Linked DNA regions of Homo sapiens: region 2 is linked to region 1. The links are contacts of gene promoters, found by promoter capture Hi-C in blood cells and fetal thymus (Javierre and others, 2016). All regions are on one chromosome and are shown on one strand. The core of a region is centred on a gene start or on the middle of the fragment in contact, and the rest is flanking DNA. Distances in the headings are between cores, read along the strand shown. Region 1 holds the start of ZRANB2-AS1 (ZRANB2 antisense RNA 1). Region 2 overlaps CRYZ (crystallin zeta).

Region 1 (6,344 bases), core at 1,044-3,543:
GATCACCTCAGGTCAGGAGTTCGAGACCAGCCTGGCCAACATGGTGAAACCCCATCTCTACTAAAAATACAAAAATTAGCCAGGTGTGGTGGCGGGCGCCTGTAATCCTAGTGACTCCAAAGGCTGAGGCAGTAGAATCACTTGCACCTGGGAGGTGGAGGCTGCAGAGAGCTGAGATCTCACCACTGCACTCCAGCCTGGAGTTTTTTTTTTTGAGACAGAGTCTCAAAAAAAAAAAAAATTCTCCTTTTTGATATGATCACATGTTTAATTTATTTTGTTTAATGTTTTTATAATTGAATTAATAAAGTACCCAGTAAAATGCTATAAATCAATAAGTATTATCCAAATGAAAATAAATTGAAATTAAGTAAGACTAGTTTCAAATGCAGTCTTTCTTGAAAGAGTGAGTTTGGCCATCCTAAATTACAGTTTTCAAGATTGATCTACTTTCTTTCTGAGGCCACCATACTTTTGGTACTAGAATTAAAGTGTCTAAATCAAAAACACACTACATGGCTTCGCTTTGACTTAAAAACAAAATGCACAAACAATAAATTATAAGTCTGATTAACTGTATGGGTATTTTGTTCAATTGATTTAACTGCATTTTTTTTCCCTAGGATATAAATCATGTGATACAGCAAACTCAAAGATGTGGGACTCAAATGACACTTGTGAAAAACTGATACCCTGTTTGCCTTTAAAGTTATATTAATTACCACACTTTAGTAAAGTGTTTACTATTTAGAACTCTTTCTTCCTTCCTAGTTGGCCACCTGTACACTCCATTCCTCAGCCATAAAAGTAAATACTGTATATCTAAAACTGGTGCTGGTTTTGATAAGCCATAGTGATGACATCAGCCTGAGTTCCAACTCCTGGAATAAAGAACTGTGACCATACAGCGACTTGTGGGCAGTTAGGTCTCAGCATAACACTCCTTGTCCCCTCATGTCACTGATTTGGAGCCAAGGTTTGTGCTCCAATCTACCAAACCAGGTTAAAGAAATTACATTTCTATTTTCAAATGCAAGGGATTTAAAAGTATACATGGCGCACAAAAAACTCAACGTACTTAATGCCTAATGCCACTGAACTGTACACATAATAATGGTTAAAATACTGAATTGTATGTAATATATTTTACCATAATTAGGAAAGAAAAAAAACTGCGTTCACGTGTTTCAAAGGTTTTCCACAACTGTATAATACATATAGTTGGTTATACCTTTGTAACAGTGACCATATCGCTCTTTCTGCAACATCTATTAACCCAGACACCCCAGGGCCTAAGTAAGCATCCATTCTTCAGGAATTAGTAAACAGCACTTACACACGGACATTTCTAGCTAAAAGTAACACAGACAAAAAAACCTCAAAAATATCACGTAAGGGCAGGTGTTAGGCAAAGAGCCTCTGCAAACATCCCTTGCTCCTCTGCATTGCTCTGGTGTGAGGAGCTAGGACATGGAGAAACCTCTACCTCCTATCTCAGGATTAGCGAACCCTGCTTGAGTGCTACAAGGGTAAGTAAATGCTGGCCTGAAGAAGCTGCTGAGCTTCCGGATCCCACTGACTGTCGTTCGGGCACTTCCTAGAGGGTCAAGCACCATGGCGAAAGGCTGAGGAGGCAACTCGTATCTTTCATTCTCCTGCCTCATCAAGAATGAACCTTGAAGGCACCCATAGGTCGCGCAGTCTTTCAGAAGCTGCAGGAGGGCTGTGACTGTATGGGGTTGCAGACTGAAAATCTTATTAACGTGAAAGAGGAATTTGAAATTAAAAAAAAAAAACCCGGCCGGGCGCGGTGGCTCACGCTTGTAATCCCAGCACTTTGGGAGGCCGAGGCGGGTGGATCACGAGGTCAGGAGATCGAGACCACGGTGAAACCCCGTCTCTACTAAAAATAAAAAAAAAAAATTAGCCGGGCGTGGTGGCGGGCGCCTGTAGTCCCAGCTACTCGGAGAGGCTGAGGCAGGAGAATGGCGTGAACCCGGGAGGCGGAGCTTGCAGTGAGCCGAGGCTGCGCCACTGTACTCCAGCCTGGGTGACAGAGCGAGACTCCGTCTCAAAAAAAAAAAAAAAAAAAAACCCCACAATATCAGGCTACAGTTATCATAGCAATTCTGCTTTTAATGCACTCAGGACAAACTTCTAGCTCTGCATATATGTCATTTCAATGACACATCCTGTCTCCTACCCGACTAGAATGTGAGCAGCCCTGTGATCTCTATGTGCTCATAAACAGTGCCTAATGCGAATCCTGGCTCTTGGAAGGCGCTCAGCTAGTAAGTGAGGAGCTCAGCTCTGAAGCTGTAACCAAGACCGCGCGGGCAGGAGGAAAGGACACTTCAGCGCTCTGCGGTTGCAAACACACCCCTGCGGGTGCTGCCACTTAGCAAAGTCTTAGGTTCCCGCTTACTCGCACACGCATCCTGACTTCCCCCAACCCTGGAACTACCTACCAGGAGCGGAGACCAGCAGACCGACAGCACGCACATGATCCCCATAAGCTGAATGGCCGTCTCGGTCGTGATGCGGCCCCACTGGGCACTGGACTGAGATGCCGTGGCCTTGGCCCGGCAGCGGGACACCAGGGCCTTAATGGTGGCCAGGTTGCAGGAAAAGGTGACTGTCAGCGCCAAGAGCCCCAGGAAGGCAAAGGCAGAGGCGAAGAAAAGGTTGCCCCAGTTATGCGAAGAGCTAGTCCCGTTGCCCCCTCGCCCGGTGCTGATGAAGCACCACGTCCCGGGCCACTGGACGGTGTACTGGCCCACGCCCAGCACCGGCAGCAGGGCGAAGGCGAGCACGGCCAGCCACACGCCGAGCAGCACAGCGCGGGTGGCACGCGTCTTCATGTGGCTCGCATACCAGTGCGGCGCCCTGATGGCCAGCGCCCGCTCGACGGCCATGGCGCTGGCGATGAACAACGAGGAGAGCCCGAAAACAGTCATGGTCAGCCCGAAAAAGGTGCAGAGCCGCCCCGACGGGTCGATGTGCTCCCAACGCTGCTTGGACAGGTACACGACGATGACGACCGGGGTGGTGAGAAGCTGCCCGACCAGGTCGGTGAGCGCCAGCCAGCCGATGCACAGCAGGAAGGACTTCTTGCGCTTGCTCTCCCGGCGCCGGTAGCTGCGCGACACGAGCAGCATGGCCAGTGCGTTGCCCACGAAACCAGTGAGCAGCATGGTGATCGGGAAGGCCACGGACACCGATCCGCAATCCTCGCCAGACCCTGGAGGGCGCGTGAGGTTGCCCCGCGCCTCGGCGGAACGCTCGGGCGCCCACATGCCTGTGTAGGAGTGGTTGAGGCGGGTGCAGAAGGGGGCATCCCCTCCGTAGCCCCGGGTCTCCTTCATGTTGGCTTCGAGGTGAGGAGGGGATGGCGTCCAGAGAGCCGCAGCGGGAGGGGGCAGACGCGGCGCGGGCGGCGGCGGAGGTCGGCGTTTACCGCGGCTGGGGCTGGGCTGCCCCCCATGGTGCGGGGCGCAGCCGCCGCCCTACTCCGCTGCTGGGACCGCGGCCGCGGCGGCGCCAGGGCTCACTGGCCCGGGAGGGAGCCACGCCTTCCTCTCTGGGAAACCTCTGGTGGCGAGGCGCGCGGAGGTGCCGAGTCCCCTTTATAAGGCCGAGGGGGCGGGGCGCCCGTGGGTGTGGACAGAACCGAGGTGGGAGGAGGGTGCAAAGCAACTGAGCGCCTCTCTTGGCTGTTGCCTATCCTGATCGCCTGGGTTGGGAAGCCCCAGACGGTCTCCTCTGAAACGCCCTGCTCCTGGCCGGACCGGGAGCCCACTGGGGTCTCCTCCAGTTCTCCGCTAAAGTGTCGGTGGACGGCAAGCAGCTAATAAGTAGCACTGGACTTGCGGACCCCAGGCAAACTGCCGAGGCGCACCTGAGCGCTCGTCCTCCTGCTTCTTCAACCACAAACGCTCCTACAGGGACGGGATCCTTCTCCTGAAGTCCTTTAGTAACTCTGGTAAAGTGAAAATCGCCTGTCCTTAAGCAATCCACACAAGCCTTTGCATAGCTGATCGTTAACTTTTTTCCTTTCTGCTTTGTGACTCTAGAGTGATTATAAAAAGGCCAAGGTGTCCTGTCCCCTGGGGTGCCGCTGAAAACTATAAAATTACTAGACAGTGCCTGTAGACTTAAGGGAATAGACACAGGGAAACAAATACATCGGATGGTTGAATTCCAAGACCAAGAAATCCCAACTACTACCCCTCGCCTAATCCTGCCCGCTCCCCTCCCCACCACCCAACAAAAAGGTCAGCTATGGCAAAAGTGGCTACAGGAAGGTGGCATCAATTTGCATATCTGAGGTAGTGAAATCAACTGCTCCCAGCCTATGGGAGTGAGAGGGGAGCAGAAGAGAAAGGTATTCCTTACAAAGCCTCCAACCATCCTTCTTATCTTCATACAATAAGAACTAGAAAAGGTATTCAGATGTTATGAAGGCCTTAATCTATATGGAAACTTTGCCTTTGAAATAATAAACATTGAATGAAAATAGGCATACTTGCTTGCCTCGTAACATCTTTCAGTAAGCCAATATTTTATGTACTTCTCACAAGCATTTTCTCATTTTATCACAGAAATCCTCCAAGGTACTATTGCTATTATTATTTCCCTTAAAGGTGGGGTAACTGAGGCCCCATGAAGTTAAAGAATGTTCCTGAAGTCTCTCAGCAATTCTCAAGTCCCATCTTATTTGAAGCATGTATTCCTGACATGGGTCCCATAACTGCTCTCAGCAGATGAATATTAACGGTGAGATCATCTTCCCCTAATCTTGGGAAAGTCTTGTGTTTTTTGCTTTTTGCCTTTTTACACTGTCTAAGAGATGAAAAGATTTTTAAAAATAATTGCAAAGTTCATTTTTCCTCATATTTAAGAAATTAGACTTAATCATATAGCACTCTAAAGACCATTATTTTGATTGACACAGATCAACTTTCAGAACAAGCCCAATCAGTTTTGCCTTTCCTAGCTTAGCTGATGTTCTGTATGGGTGTTCTTAACTTTTAAATTACTGTTAAGAGGTAAGAATGGGATATGTCCCTCTGCATACTTTATGTGCTGTTGTCTTGATTCTGTATGAGAGTTTGAAAAAATATCACTATAACATTATATGTTTTTTAAAGAAGGAAAAGCAAGAATGCAACTTAAACTCCATTTTAATAAGATGCATTAATCACAACATGAATTTCATTTTGTGTTTTGCTGTCATTTAAAAATGTTTTGCACTTTTGCGTTTTACTGACTAAAATGTCACGTTTACAATGGGAACAACAGCTAGGAAGGGTGAAATGGTTTGATTCTAAAATCTTCCGTAAACTTTTGTCTTATTATTTTGAATTAATCTCAAACCTGTATTTGGGATAGTATTTTTCTAGCCTAATATCATTTGAAAATAAAATAATATTTGAGGTTATTCTTAGACAAAGCTTTATCCAAAGCATTTGGATGAAAGTGGCTATCAAGTTTATACCATCTATAGTTAGTAAAATTCTAGTGTAATTCAATATTTAAAATTTAAGACCATATCACCATTCACACAGCAAAGGAAGCAAGGCTTATCTTTTTCCAGTTACATCAAAAACTATTCTCATTTTTATTCACAAATATTTGACTTCTTTGAAACTTTTACTTCTCCCACTGAAGTGCTTGCTGTAGCCAATTGGACTTGATAAGCATGGTAAGCGTCGGGGCATGTATTAGTAAAGAATTGTTAGCCTCTCACTAACCTCTATGCCAATGAACAAAATGTGTTGCATTTCAGATAATTTGGGTATTTCTCTTCTTTCAGCACTTTGCTTCATCCTATATTGTCTGCCTTTAGCTATTCACCTTGTAAACAAGTGACTGTGAGGTTTTGTGGAGTAACAGTGTGAAGCTGGCAGTTGGATTCTGGTTGGTACTTTCTGGTCAGTTACTACGGATATAGTGTGAATTGTGTTGGTCTGAAACAACACCACCCTCTAGTGACCAAAAGGCTAATAACATGCTTTATGCTGTTTTAAAGAGAATTTCCATAGGGCCAATGGATGCTTTGCTTAGGGAATCTCTGATTTCTTTCCTAGAGATCTACTTATCAGTACATAATTGTGGTCACTTTGTTTTCCTTTGAGGTTACAAATTGGCAACTTTGTTTAACAGTCAATAAACCAGTAGAGGATTAAACTGAAAGACCAGATATTCATTTTTTTTTAATTTAAAGTATATATTCACCTATTATGTTTTCAATGAAATTCTAACCTGGACATGTTTTAAATTCACAGATTACTTAATTGTACCCTACAGCTTAAAATGTATAATGTATGTCAATATTTAGCTAG
Region 2 (6,344 bases), core at 505-3,004, 3.7 Mb after region 1:
TTGAGTTTTTAACCACTGCATCAAGATGTTTGCAGGGTTTAAAGATGATCAGAACATGCTCTCTGACTTCTTTGTGCATATGAAATTCTAAATAACAAATGTAAGGCCTCCACCATTTAAGTAGAAGAGATAGGTATATGGGCAAATTAACTAATTCATCCATATGGTGAATGTTTATAGAGTGTTTACGATGTGCTAGACATGGTACTTAATGTAAGAAATAAACTTATATTCTAAGGGTGGAGGAAGATAATAGTCATATGAATGAATAAAATAAATTCAGGAAATAAAAGTGCTAAGAAAAAATAAGACTGGCTGTTGGGTTAAAGAGACAGGAATAGGGGCTATTTAGGTCATCAGGAAGAGCCACTCTGAAAAAATGAGACCTGAAAAAAGTGAGGAACAAGCCACGAGAACATCCGGTCAGCCACGTGGAGGATGCTGTGGGCATAGTGAATGGCCATGGCTAACCTGGCGAGGTGGGAATGCAGTTGGGGTCAAAGAACAGAAAGAGGGGCAGTGTGTCTCAGGGAGGGGCGTGTACGAAAGGGTCGAAGATGAGGCCAGAAAGGCCAAGTCACACAGAATCTGAGGGGTGAGGGTAGAGGCTTCCGAGTATATTAAAACCTGTGCAGAACCACGGGAGAGCTTAAGCCAGGAAATGATCTGGTTGACTCAGGCTTTAAAAAGGTTGCTCCAATTACATGTGAGGCACAAAGAAAGCGGTGAGGAAAATGGGAGGAGGAAGATCAGTTTGTAGCTGTTAGAACAGTCTAGATAAGAGATGAAGCTGGCTTGAACAAAGGTGGTGGCACTGGAAAAAATAAACAAATTCAGATATAGTTTAGAGGTAAGCTAATGGGACTTCCTCACAGATTGAATGCGGGAGATGAGGAAAAGAGAAAAATACAGGCTGTCTCCTATGTCTTTGGCCAGATTAACTGGGTAGAGTGAGAAGACTGGAGAACACTAAGTTTGTGAAAATCTCCAGATTTCACTTTGCCAAGTGTGGTGGCGCATGCCTGTAATCCCAGCTATGTGGGAGGCTGAGGCAGGAGGATCGCTTGGGCCCAGGAATTTGAGGAGTTTGGGATTGCAGTGATCATGCCACTGCACTCCAGTCTGGGCAACGGAGCAAGACCCTGTCTCTAAAAAATAAAAATAAAAGAATCACTTGTAACATGCTGAGCTGCACAGTGCTCATCTACTTACGGGCGAAGATGTTCAGCAATCAGTTGAATATGAGTATGGACTCAAAAGGGTTCAACTGGAGATATATATTAGAGATTCATTATCTTACGGATGGTATTTAAAGCCAAAGGATTAGGTGGAACATGGTGGCTCATGCCTGTAATCCCAGCACTTTGGGAGGCTGAGGTGAGTGGATCACCTGGGGTCAGGAATTCGATACCAGCCTGGGCAACCTGGCAAAATCCCAGCCTCCCAAAATGCTGGGATTGTAAGAAATCACTAGAATACCAGATAAATGTGCTTAGTATAAAAGAGAAATCAAAGTAATTTAAGAATATAGACAAAAGAGCAATTACTTAAATAACAATACTAGGAAATATATCTGATTAGATGACAAATGATGGTACAAATAAGTGTCACATACATTTAGAGCAGAGTTTCCCAAACTTGGCACTATCAACATTTTGGGCCAGATAATTATTTGCTGTGGGAGACTATCCCATGTATTGAAGGATATCTACTCTCTAGATGCCAGAACCCCTTCCCCAAGTTGTGACAACCAAATATGTCTTCAGACATTGCCAAATGTCCCAGAGCGGAAGGAGAAATGATGCAAAATCACCCGCTACTCATAACCAGTGATTTACAGGGAGGACCGGGTTCGGCAAGAAAAGAATTAAGATGAAAAATAATGATAGAAACAGATTAAAGCTGTAACAGACTTCCAGGCCTGAAGTGGACCTTAAAGATTGTATGGCACATGGGAATAACGAGGCTGGACTCAGCCAGGTTATGGCAGGAATTTGTTTAACTGAAACAAACAAATACATGAAACTCACTGTCTGATGGAGGAGAGAGACATCCAATTAGATAAAACACAACCCACTATGGGGTGGGCACAATTAATTTTCTATTTTAATTTTCAAATTTAAATAAAAGACCTCTAATAAAACCACACTTTAAAAAGCTAACGTAACTACATCTCCTTGTGTTCTAACTGCTTTAAAAGGGCACTCAATAGCTCTTTTAAAAAGGCACTGTTTATTCTATTCTTGTCAACAATTATACCAGCAATGATCCTTCAACAGATTATGCACCATTATGTGTCAACTATTTTTCTTCTACTTATTTTGCTAACACTAAAATAGGGCACTCCTCACCAACATATCTGGATAATAGCTGTGTTCATAAATTCCACACCATTTTAAACACACAACATAATCCCAAAGGAATTCGAATTAAATGAGGACAGAAAGTACAAACAGAAGCAAGGCAAAACCCAGTACTGTTTCCCTCTGATAGGACAGGGAGGATCAGAAGCACTTCACACACCAGGTCACCAGCCTATCCCTGCCAGCTGAGGATTTAACAAACTCAGCCAGCTCAGAGAACAGTGTGGATTTTACCTTAAAAAAAAATCATGGTGAAGCAACTGGGCTTTTTACAAGAGGGTAAAGGGAATATAAAGAGATTTTCTTTAAACTCTTCTCTCCCCTTCCTACTGAAATCTTTCCCTTCTGCACAGAGCACTAAGTTAGCTCTCTGAAAGCCAGGGTAATTTAAATAAATGTATGTGTTTGACAGACCCTTTAGTTACTTAGGGTTAAATTTAATTTAACCCAAAAATAGCCTCTTCAGTGAAGTTAAACAGTGGGAGTTTTGGACAAGGTATATCTGTCATATTGTCTCAAGCCCCATAAAGACAATCCTAGTGTTTTTTCATAAATTGTTTGATCTGTGAAATCCTTTAGAATTGATCTATTTGAAGTGTAGGAAGCTAGGTGTGAAACCTCGTGATTCATCTACCTAAAGAAACAGAGAGACAAAAAGGACTGAAATTACCTGGGCACTTTTAAAGGTAAATTCACATTTTCAGGATACCACTCATTATTCAGGGGACTATGTGCCATTTAATAGGTTACTTCTTTCAATCCACTCTCCAGAATACACAGTGCTCTGAAATGGTTAACAGCCTCCTCAAAGTAAGCATCTAGCCCCAGGCCTTTTATTTTTAAAATGCAAAATCTTATCTCCAAAATTTCCAAAGCATCCAGTGACAGAGTTCATGTGGATTTCTTGTTAAATTCTAACTGCAGAGCTCTAACTTTTCCCTCTAAGCTCCTGAGAGGCAGATTGGCAGCTAGTTTCTCGAAGAGGTTTCTGACAGCCCTGCATTGGGTGATTTCATTGAAGGGCTTATTTTAAGTTCTGAGTCCTCCTCCCCCATTCCCCCACATTAGCATTTTCAGCCATGGGTTGTGGTGTTAAGGACAGGGCTGTATACGTGCACTCCATGGATGTCATCAAAGTGCAGCAGGCAAGCAGCAGAAGGGAGATAGAAGGACTAAGAATTCACAGTGTGGCTTTACCGTGCTGTCTGGGGCAACATAGGTAAGCTTTAATGAGCCTTAGTTTCCTTATCTAAGGGAATATGGAATTAATATCAACCTTAAAGAACTGTTTAAAATTCTAAATAAATATTTTTATAACATATGCTACTTGAAGGCAAAAACAAGGCCAGTTTATCTTAGTCTACACCCAATACAGGTGGAAAATCTAACATATTTTTGAAGGGGTGCTCTGTTGAGTTTATTAACCAAGAAATGCTAAACTAATGACAAAACATCACCTTCAGAAGACCAAAATCAAAAGTTTTACTACATAAAGAAAAAAAGCACCTTTGACTCTATTTATAAATCTGACTTTTAAAAATGACCAAAGGAACTATAATGTGAAACCCATAAACCCAAGCTTGTTTCAAAATACATTAAAAAAAATACTTACTCCTCCACTTGCCCCATGAACCAGAACACTCTCTCCAGCTTTCACACAGGCACTGCAAAGGAAAGCATAAGTTACATCACCTTATTTTTTGAAGCTAATTAATCTCGGGTGTTTTCATCATCTTAAGGAATTTCTACCCCTAGTCTGGCTAACACTTACACAAACAGCAAATGCAACCTGACATACAGCCCCAAATATTCCCTAAGCTCCACAGAATAAACAAAGCCTTCAATTCATTTATTCCTTGAACAAATATTTATTGGGAGTCTTTATGTTCCAGGCACTATGCTGCTGGACACTGGGATGACTATGTGGTGCTACTTCTGAGTGGCTACAGTCCTTGTGGGTTGTGAAGTAAAATTGCTGAGCCTGGAGGATCTGGAATCTCTCATTCCCATATATCCCCCACAGAAAGGGCCTCAAAGCAGGTTTATTATATAGCTCAGTCTTTATTCTGTGGTCTAGAGTAATGTCCAAGTAAACACAGTAGCTATTTTTTTTGCCCAAGGAAAGAAAGAAATTTTTCTTCTCCATGTCTCTGAACATCAGGTTGCACCAGCCTTGTACTCTTTCAGGGAGGAATGCTGAGTTAGCAAAGGTCAGAGAGTAGGAAATGCAATAAATTCTATCACAAAGATTCCCATGTCATCCCCCTGAAATGTCCAGATTCTCTGGTGAAATGGCATTTTCTTTTTACTTCCAGTTCACATGACTACTTTTCTAGTATGTACTGAAAAGAAGGGACATGCAGCAAGGCATGAGGGGATGCCTCACTATTCCAGATGGACGGTGCCAATGTCAAAAGCCAGCAGATGCTGTGAGATCCAGATCTGACTCTCAGGAAGGCTCTCTTACTTCCTCAAACAATGTGGGGTGGCCACACTGCAGAGACATTATAGAACATTATGCTCCACCTGGGAAAGAGAACAGTAACCAGAGTCCTGCTCCCAGCTATGCACCAACAGCTGAGAAGTGGCAACAATGAGCAATAAGTGAAGCTTTCTCCCACACTCTTGCTTAGAGCTGAAGGGACTGAGGACAATATGTTAAAGTAAAACATAAACATAAGGGGATAGGATGACTAGTGTTAAACTATGGGATATGAAATACCTCCCAAAGAAATTTTTCAAAAATTCTTATAAGATGCCCCTCAAACACTAAAGACACATTCTCATAAATCCCTGGGGCCTGGGGTGAGGGGAGAAAAAGCAGGCAAATCCCCTCCTGAATCCTTGCACAGAGTCGCTGTGACAGTTAATTTTATGTGTCAACTTGACTGGGCCAAGGAACCCAATATTTGTTCCAACATTACTCTGTTACAGAAACAGTGTTTTTTTTTTTTTTTCGAATGAGATTAACAATGGAATAGCTGGATTTTGAGTAAAGCAGATGACCCTCTAGAATGTGGGTGGGCCTCATCCAATCAGTTGAAGGCTTTTGTTTTCAAAGACTGACCTCCGATGAGCAAGAGTAAATTCAGCCAGCAAACTTTCTATGGACTTAAACTGCACCTCTTCCTTGTGTCTCCCATCTGCTGGCCCACCGCAACAGATTTTAGACTCACCAGTCCTCCACAATTTCATGGGTCAACTCTTTAAAATCAATCAATCTGTGTGCGCGTGTGTGTGTGTGTGTGTGTATGTGTACAGAGTGACTGATTCTTAAGGAATTTATATAGAGATAAATGATAGATCAGATCAAATAGAAGATCAAATAGATAGATGATTGACTGATAGATAGACAGACAGACACACATCCCGTTGTTTGTTTCTCTGGAGAACCCTGACTAATACAGTCATCTTCCCTGGTGCTCATAACACTCAGCCTGGCCTTCCATGCTGCTGTCCTTTACCATCTTCTAGTCACTGAAGACTAAGACCTGGCACATAGGCTTTCTCTCCCACCCCAAATCCAGCTCCAATCAAGGAGACACTGCATTCCCCAGAAAGAAAATCAAGCATCACAGTTCCTGAATTTTCCTCCACTTATAGCCACTCTCTCCCAGGGCTTAACTACCAGCAACCATTCTCCCTGAGAAATATCAGATGCCAATAACCAATATTATGACAGTAATTTATCCTAATTCTGAAAACCCATATTCTCTCAAAATCTTTCTTCAACTATGCAGAGATTACTGACTCTCAATAGCTCCATTTCTGCCCACTTGCTGCTCCAGGCCTTCCTTCCGTCCCTACTCAGCCTGGACTCCATAGATTGCCCAGCCTCCTCTCCCCGCAGCCCCTGTGCTCTCATTTCTTTTGCACCATTCAATTTTGCCACCAGCATTCTAGCCCTGGATTAATGTTCAAATCTAGCTTCCTTGATACTCCATCCAAATGGCTAAGTATTACAGAAAAAAATCACATGAC

What was found. The method cuts DNA at HindIII sites, captures the fragments that hold promoters and counts their contacts. A CHiCAGO score of 5 or more calls a contact.
Region 2: a fragment that was not itself captured here is called in contact with the fragment with the promoter of ZRANB2-AS1 in region 1 in 2 of 17 cell types (naive CD8 T cells and total CD4 T cells); the score reaches 9.0 in naive CD8 T cells.

The regions. Positions count from the first base shown.
Region 1 is chr1:71,044,213-71,050,556 of GRCh38, forward strand. It overlaps ZRANB2-AS1 (ZRANB2 antisense RNA 1), which reads left to right and starts at 2,294. Exons shown (of 3, transcript NR_038420.1): 1 at 2,294-3,377; 2 at 4,602-4,776. It overlaps PTGER3 (prostaglandin E receptor 3), which reads right to left and starts at 3,604. Exons shown (of 4, transcript NM_198719.2): 1 at 2,469-3,604. The coding sequence starts at 3,365. RefSeq lists an enhancer at 3,018-3,601. The HindIII fragment of the contact is 6,286 bases long and covers 1-5,451 here.
Region 2 is chr1:74,710,604-74,716,947 of GRCh38, forward strand. It overlaps CRYZ (crystallin zeta), which reads right to left. Exons shown (of 9, transcript NM_001889.4): 5 at 3,976-4,027. Among named protein-coding and RNA genes, the nearest start is that of CRYZ, 19 kb to the right of the region's middle. The HindIII fragment of the contact is 3,662 bases long and covers 1-3,585 here.